2 separate regions of the Homo sapiens genome follow, and region 2 is linked to region 1. Evidence: promoter capture Hi-C in 16 types of primary human blood cells and fetal thymus (Javierre and others, 2016). All regions are on one chromosome and are shown on one strand. The core of a region is centred on a gene start or on the middle of the fragment in contact, and the rest is flanking DNA. Distances in the headings are between cores, read along the strand shown. Region 1 holds the start of SPAG7 (sperm associated antigen 7). Region 2 overlaps NUP88 (nucleoporin 88).

Region 1 (3,751 bases), core at 782-3,281:
GAATTGGGACCATAGGAGCGCGCCACCAAGCCCAGCTAATGTTTATTTATTTATTTATTTATTTATCTATTTATTTATTTATTTATGAGACGGAGTCTCGCTCTGTCGCCAGGCTGGAGTACAGTGGCGCAATCTCGGCTCACTGCAACCTCCTCCTCCTGGGTTCAACTGATTCTCCTGCCCCAGCCTCCTGAGTAGCTGGGACTACAGGCACGCGCCACCACGCCCAGCTAATTTTCGTATTTTTAGTAGAGACGGGGTTTCACCATGTTGGCCAGGATGCTCTCGATCTCTTGATCTCGTGATCTGCCCGCCTTGGCCTCCCAAAGTTTTGGGATTACAGGCGTGAGCCCGGCCAATTTTTGTATTTTTTGTAGAGATGGGGTTTCTCCATGTTGCCCAGACTGGTCTTGAACTCCTGGGCTCAAGCGATCCGTCCGCCGCGGCCTCCCAAAGTGGTGGTATTAAAGGTGTGAGCTACAAGGCCGGGCCCCACTGACTGTTCTTTAACTGGTTTTCGAGTCTTCTCTGCATCTAGAGAAGTGGCACAAGATTATGGTCAAGAACATAGGCTTCGAGCCCAGTCATACCTGGGTTTGAAACCCTGCCACTTACCAAACTAACCATGTGACCTCAGGCGAGTGACTCATTTAAGCTTCCCAGTCTGTCAATGCCGGGTGATCCCCCACTTAGACAGTCATCGGAGCATTAGAGAATTCCAGTTCCCCATTCCCATCATGCTTCCTCCTTTCTCAGAGATTTCAAATAGACTCTTCTGCCTGTAACGCTTTGCTTCTCTCTCTCATTTACGGAATTACCTGTTCTGATCTCGGCTCACTGCAGATTGGGGGAGAACCTCAGGTGGCCGCTCTCACAGTTATTTTTCTCTCAGAGCACTTATCAAGTTGGTTATTAAACTTACGTGTGATCACTGCATCAATGAGCGCCCCAGCCCCGGACTGTGGCCTCCCTGAGGGGTACCCCTGGTCCCTAACGGTTGTTCAAGAAACAAGGGGACGAAGCGTAGGCAACCAGCGGCCCTTGAATACTTGGAAGGCGTCCTGCCTGCTCTGGTCCCCCTGGGGCACGTGGGGAGCTGGGACAGGGCTCGTCCGTGGTCAAGGTCCGCAGGTTTGGGAGTTGGGGTCCTGCGTTCCGCCAGTATCATCCCAAGCTGCAACACGAGCAGCCCCGGGGAGGCTCCCACCGCCCTGCAGGGCCGCGCCCTACGCCGGCCGCCGAACTCCAGCCCACCCGCAGGGAAGCTACTCCGAGAACGCAGGCGGAGACAGTGGCCAATCGGACCCGGCGGGTATTCTCATCCCTCCAATCAACACTACGATCCGCCCGGGCAGCTCGGGAATTTAAGGCTACGGATGGGAAAAAGGTTGTCGGAGGGAGGCAGAAGGGACTGGGTTAAATTAAGCAGGAGGGGCAAGAACACACAGAGGACCCTGCAACCAATGGGAATTCGCAGGCTGGGGTGGTTTCGAAGGAAGGTCGAACAGGCCTGAGGAGGCAGAGCTTTAAGTTGAGATAGCCAATAGAGATGAAGGCACAGTAGATGGCGTGTCCTAAATCCAATCGAAATAGAGCTAGAGGTGAGCGGGGCAGGAATGCGGCAGGTTGGAGGCACCCTACCAATCAGACCAGGTCAGCAGCGGACAGGCGGGACGGCCGGCTAATGGGAAACAAGGACTGCGGAAGGCCAGGGTCGGGAGAAGAGGCAGGAGGCTGGCGCTATCTTTCAGGTAGCCAATCACTGTCCGCTAAGAACAGCGGGCGTGTCAGCAGCCCTTTTAGGGACTCTGAGGGTCTCGGAAGGGGCCTGTGAGGGGTCTTTCAAGGTTGAGGAGGCGGCATCGTCCAAAGAGGGAGAAGTATGGTCCCGAGAACCGGGCGAAGGAAGGCGGTTGTGAATTTGGGATCCTCACCTCGGGCCTTGCGCCGAGTCTCCTGGTCACCGAGGCTGGGTGGCTTCTCCATGGAGCTCAGGATGGAGCCCAGTAGGTCCGCCATCTTGGGAGTGACTGAGAGGGGGCGGTGCGTCTTAAAGGGAAGGGCGGAATGCCTTTAAGGCCGGAAACACGTCGGAGGCGGAAAACCCTGGGCCCGCCTGGCCTGGGCGCAGATCCCAGGCCCGCGGTGCATGGCGGCCTCCAGCTGGCCTAGGCCCCGCCCCGCCCCCGCAGACAGAGGCCGGAGGCTGGCTGGTGCAGCGATGTTTAATGGCAATTCGTATAAACCAAGCCCATGCACAAGTAGAAAGTGCCCGTGGAGCCGGCAGGAGGCCCCCGCCGCGCTAGAGAACCACAAGCCCGGCCGTGCAGCCCTCCCCGCGGCGCCTTAAATAGATTCTTCACTATACTCTGTATGTTACAGTATGTACAAGACCCCTCCCCTCGGGGGACGGGGCGGACTCCGCAACGCGTTCCTATGTACACCACCTCCCCTTCGGCCCTGAGGTCAGTGGCCAGAGTCGGGTGATGGGGTAAGACAGGGCCAGAGAGGGAGGAAACAGACGCAAACATGCGGAGTCGGGTGGGGACACGGTCAGCCCTGAAACACGAGGGGCGTGCGCAGCGAAGGCAGTGGTGGGAACCGAGGCGGATACATTCAGAGACGCGTCGAACAAATAAATAAGGCAAGTCAGGAGGGGGCCGAGTCGGGTGCAGGCAGGAGGAGCTGGGGAGCAGGGGCAGGCAGGGCTCCGGAGGTCACAGCGGAAGATGCAGGTATGTGGGGCGCGGGTTTTCTGGAGCCAGGACCAAAAGAGACGGGGCACGACCAGGAGGGACGAGGAGAGGGGTGTGGGAGCAAGGCGTGGGGAGGAGGGAGGAGGCCTACAGAGGGCTCCAACAAAGGTGAACAGGAAAGCTGCCGACAGGGGCTCCCCCTGCCCCAGAAAGCCCTCTCCCTGTTAAGACTGCACGAGGCGCCCCCAGGGTGGTGAGAAAGGCGGTGGCCAGGTCATGTGGCCAGTCCCGGCTGGGGAAGCCCTTCCAGCTCCTGGTTCTGCTTCAGTTCCCTCATCCTGCAGAGAGAAAGATAGGAGTCAGAGGAGACTGGCGGATCACGACGGGTGGCAACGCAAAAGCCCAGGGGGAGAAGGGATGAGTACCTGTGTCGGCAGCGCCGCAGGAATCTCATGATCTTCCGGGCTGCCTGGTCCTGCTTCTTGGTGAGAAAGGAGCCTCTGGTGAAAGAAACAAAAGATGGACCTCACAGAAGGCATCGCATGCCTTCGGCCCCCCCAGGAACCCTAGGCAGGGAATGGCAGTGAGGCATGATGATCAAGAGGATGAGTAAGGGGGAATGGCGTGGATGCAGTGGGTGGGCACAGAGGGCTGGGGCTGGGCCCTACTTGTTGCGGGCAGGCAGGGTGGCCGAAGTCCGGTGGGGAGGGCCGGGCCTGCGGCGGTAGGAGCGGTAGTGCTGCTGGATGAGCACAGCCGCTCGGCGGCTCTGCTGAAATCGCTTCTGTTCATAGTAGCTTCGGAACTTGCTCTGGATCAGGATGGCCGCCTGGGTCATCTTCTTATAGAGTGCAAACTGCAGGGGTGGGGAGGAGGGACAGGGGCTGAAATAGAGGGACGGAGACCCAAAGCCCTGAGGCTCACCCAAGTTAGGCTGATGCAAGACTCTCTGTAACCCACACACTCAAGGAAAGACTGAATCATCACAGACCTCACACTCAGAGCTCATGCCTAATACCTTAAGTGCAATCCAGGTCAGCTTGTGGAGAGAGAAG
Region 2 (3,751 bases), core at 729-3,228, 440 kb after region 1:
TTGACAAATACTTATTATTGAGTGCTAGATGATACTCCCAGTGAATGATGGTTTAGTTGATGAGGCAGACATTTAACCAGAATTACTATACCATGTGATAAGTGCAACAACAGAAGGATTTATGGTGTACAAAGGAATGACAAAAAGATACAAAGATAATGAAGAAAGCTATAAAAAATAAATGAGAAAAATGAGAAAGAATGATTTCTGGGAAGGGGATTGTTGAGCATTCCAAGCTAGAGATCAGTTTATGCAAAGTCCTGGAAACATGAAAGACAAAGAACTAAGAACAAGAAAACTTATTTAGTATGATGGGAGGCAAAGTACAAGGTGGAAGGCAACGGCAAAATAGCTAGACAGACATCCAGGACTGGCTTATGAAGTACACAGTCTTGTGTGCTATGTTAAACTATTTGAAATCTATCTGCCGGGTAACAGTATATCACTAGAGGTTTAAATCAAGCGATGGAGCCTCACTTTACAAATCAGTCTGGTATTAGGGAGGAAGACATGGAAGGGTCCAAAATGGGATTTGGGGAAACTATTTAAGAAAATAAGCCAGGCAGATGGTGAAGTAGGCAGATGATGCAGTTCTGAAGCAGGGACAGAGGAATGCAGAGAAGGGTGTATAATCAGGGGTGTCCAATCTTTTGGCTTCCCTGGGCCACACTGGAACAATTGTTTTGGGCCACACAGAAAATACACTAACAATACGTGATGAGCTTTAAAAAAAAAAGAAAAGAAAAGAAAATCGCAAACAAATATCATAATGTTCTAAGAAAGTTTACAAATTTGCGTTGGGCTGCATTCAAGGCTGTCCTGGGCTGCGCGCAGCCCGTGGGTTGGACAAGCTTGGTGTATACTTTCGAAAAATTTAAATCACAAAATCAATAGAAATTTGGGACTGATGAAATGTAAGGATGAAGAAAACTTTTGGGTTTTGGGCTAACGTTACTAGGCAGATCATGGTTTGGACAAATGAGGGCTCAGCAGCAAGAGGAGAAAGGGTAAGGGAAGGTACTAAAGTTACCACAAAATCCTCCTGAGATCATGTGTGAAAGGCAGAGAACATTTCTGCCAAGGAGAATGCACTCAACAGTGAATCCTCACCATTCTGTAACCTACCGAGCTCTTTCATCTTTCTAATCTTTATGGTTTTGCGTACTCTCTTCTCTCTCCTGTACCCACTTCTGATTCTGTCTAGTGAATCCTTCAAGTTCAAGCTTTTGTAATAGCATTTCCTTAAAGTCTTCCAAGATGAGCAGGCCTACTCATTTACTCCATCACACTCCTGAAGAACCCGGTGATGCCCTGAGCACATGACACTGTACTATAGTTACTGGTTTAGTTGTATGCCCTTCTGGTAGTTAAGGAACCACATGGCAGGAACCTTGCCTTCAATCTTGTATTTCCATCTTCTGCCAGAGTGGGTCCTGAATAAGTATCTGTTAAGTCGATTTACAAGCGAATAAACTCTAATGCTCAGCCCTTAGCCTTATGCCTCTGCAGTTTTCCCTCAAATTCTTATCCTGTATAGACTCTCTCACCATGAAAGATGATTCTCATACCTCTATTTTAATTCTTCTTGTCTGTCATCATCCTGTATTTCCAACTGTCCATGGAATATTTCCATTTTATTGGTCCAATACTATCTTACACTGATTTACTTAGAAATAAATCTTCTCCCCCAATTAGCAGCCTTTACTGACCTGTTTCTGTTCATGGCATACTCCCTTATCCAAACAGTAACTAAGTCTTATTTATCCTTCCTTTGTTGTTATCTACTGTGTTTCATTTTTCCCTCTGTTCTATTACCACCCAAGTTCAAACTCTCATAAATGACAAGCTCAATTTTGCAAAAGCTTCTTTAAAAGTCTCTGTCCCAGTCCCCTCCCTAACCAATTGTTTTGTCCTTCTGTTCAGAAACCATCACTGGCTTCCTACTACCCTATTCCTACAGAAAAAAAACCCACACTCACTCTTTTAACGAGGTATTTTTAATTCCAGCAAATTTTCTCGGGACAGATACTCCAGCTTTATCACTTAATGCTCCCTACATGAATCCTCAGCTCTAGCCCAGAATGTCTAATAAATTAAGCTTGAATGACACTTGCACTTGCTTATTTTCAGACGCTACTTTATGCTGCCCTTGACAGAAATGGTCTCACTCTTCCTTGATACTTCATTTAATCCTGAATGAGACCTTTAAGTCACACATGACACCACTCCTTCTCTACGAAAATTTCCTTAACCTCCCAGTCAGAATGATCTCTCCTTCCTCGGGGTTCTTACTGTCTGTGTACCAATACTGTGGTATGGATAGTATTTTTTCATGTGTATGTATCTTTCTCCCCACAACTGGGACATAAGATACCAGATTACCACGCCTACGTGGTGTCTTGTTCATATAAGATAAACAATAAGCACTTGTTCGGATAACTAGAATTTGTGAACACAAATCCAGGCCTATCATAAGTGATTATCCAAGAATTCTATAGAACTTACCCAAATAATATGAAGAAATGAAAGGCCAAATGACCTGTACTAACTCTTTCTCAAAAATATGCAAGCCAAGCATGTGAAGGCTGCAACATTTCCACAGACTCAAAAACATGGCTCCCAAGTCCAGCCTCAATGATATCTACTGGAGCCCAAACTGAGTTTTCATTTCAGGTGGGTGACCACCTCAACTTACCTGTGTAACAGACTGATGTATGTCAGGAAAGTCTCTCCATTTTCATATAAGATGTACAGTGGGTATGCCACTACTTCATCTTTGCCGTTTTGTCCAAATAGAGTCTTTGGGACTGCTGCCAATGGCCCAAAGTCAAATGCAACTGCTGTCTCTCCTAGAGATGCGGTATACGCCCTTCTGGAAAGAGATGTAAAAACCAACTTGTTAAAAACAAAAACAACAAAAAGTAAAAAGAAAAACAAAACAAAACAAAAACACAAAATGTCTAATAACAGGAGGTGGGTATGTATGGAATTTGTAGGCAATGGACTGAAAAGACAAAAAATGATTATGAAGAATGTTAACATTTAAAAATTCTCAGCTGGGTGCAGTGGCTCATGCCTGTAATCCCAGCAATTTGGGAGGCCGAGGTGGGTGGATCACCTGAGGTCAGGAGTTCGAGACCAGCCTGGCCAACATGGTGAAACCCCGTTTCTACTAAAAATACAAAAATTAGTTGGGCGTGGTGGCAGGTGCCTGTAGTCCCAGCTACTTGGGAGGCTAAGGCAGGAGAATTGCTTGAACCTGGGAGGCGGAGGTTGCAGTGAGCCGAGATTGTGCCATTGCACTCCAGCCTGGGCGACAAGAGCGAAACTCCGTCTCAAAAAAAAAAAAAAAAAAAAAATTCTCATGAAATTAAGTGAAAAAAGCTGGCCATAAAATTATTTGGTTCTACTCTCATCTTAAATAGTTTAAATACACAGATATACAAATAGCAAAAATTTATTATATACACACACATAAATGCAAAAAGGAAACAGGAAAACACATGAAAACATCAACAGTTGTCTCTGAGCAGCAGGATCCGTAAGTTCTACAAATACTCGCAAAGCACCTACTCTGTGCCAGGTACTTTTCTAGGGTCTGGGAATATGTCAGTGAATTAAACAAATGTCCTGCCCTCTAGAGAGAGAAATACCACAAAAAGAGAAGAAATAAAGATGGAACATAAACTCAGAAAATATCATGAAAAATAAAGTAGGGTAAGAGGGTATTGATGGAGGTGCTACTTTAGAC

Evidence for each region. The method cuts DNA at HindIII sites, captures the fragments that hold promoters and counts their contacts. A CHiCAGO score of 5 or more calls a contact.
Region 2: a contact is called between a fragment that was not itself captured here and the fragment with the promoter of SPAG7 in region 1, in 1 of 17 cell types (naive B cells). The highest score is 6.2, in naive B cells.

Annotation. Positions count from the first base shown.
Region 1 is chr17:4,965,786-4,969,536 of GRCh38, forward strand. It overlaps SPAG7 (sperm associated antigen 7), which reads right to left and starts at 2,032. Exons shown (of 7, transcript NM_004890.3): 1 at 1,935-2,032. The coding sequence starts at 2,019. It overlaps CAMTA2 (calmodulin binding transcription activator 2), which reads right to left. Exons shown (of 23, transcript NM_015099.4): 20 at 3,715-3,735; 21 at 3,365-3,552; 22 at 3,122-3,196; 23 at 2,212-3,034. The coding sequence ends at 2,971. LOC124900387 (a long non-coding RNA gene) reads right to left here and starts at 1,928. Exons shown (of 2, transcript XR_007065587.1): 1 at 616-1,928; 2 at 37-534. RefSeq lists enhancers at 1,077-1,754, 1,668-2,167, 1,755-2,431, 2,432-3,109, 3,077-3,751 and 2 more and a silencer at 2,178-2,257. The HindIII fragment of the contact is 6,795 bases long and covers 654-3,751 here.
Region 2 is chr17:5,406,038-5,409,788 of GRCh38, forward strand. NUP88 (nucleoporin 88) reads right to left here. Exons shown (of 17, transcript NM_002532.6): 5 at 2,696-2,872. Among named protein-coding and RNA genes, the nearest start is that of NUP88, 12 kb to the right of the region's middle. The HindIII fragment of the contact is 236 bases long and covers 1,861-2,096 here.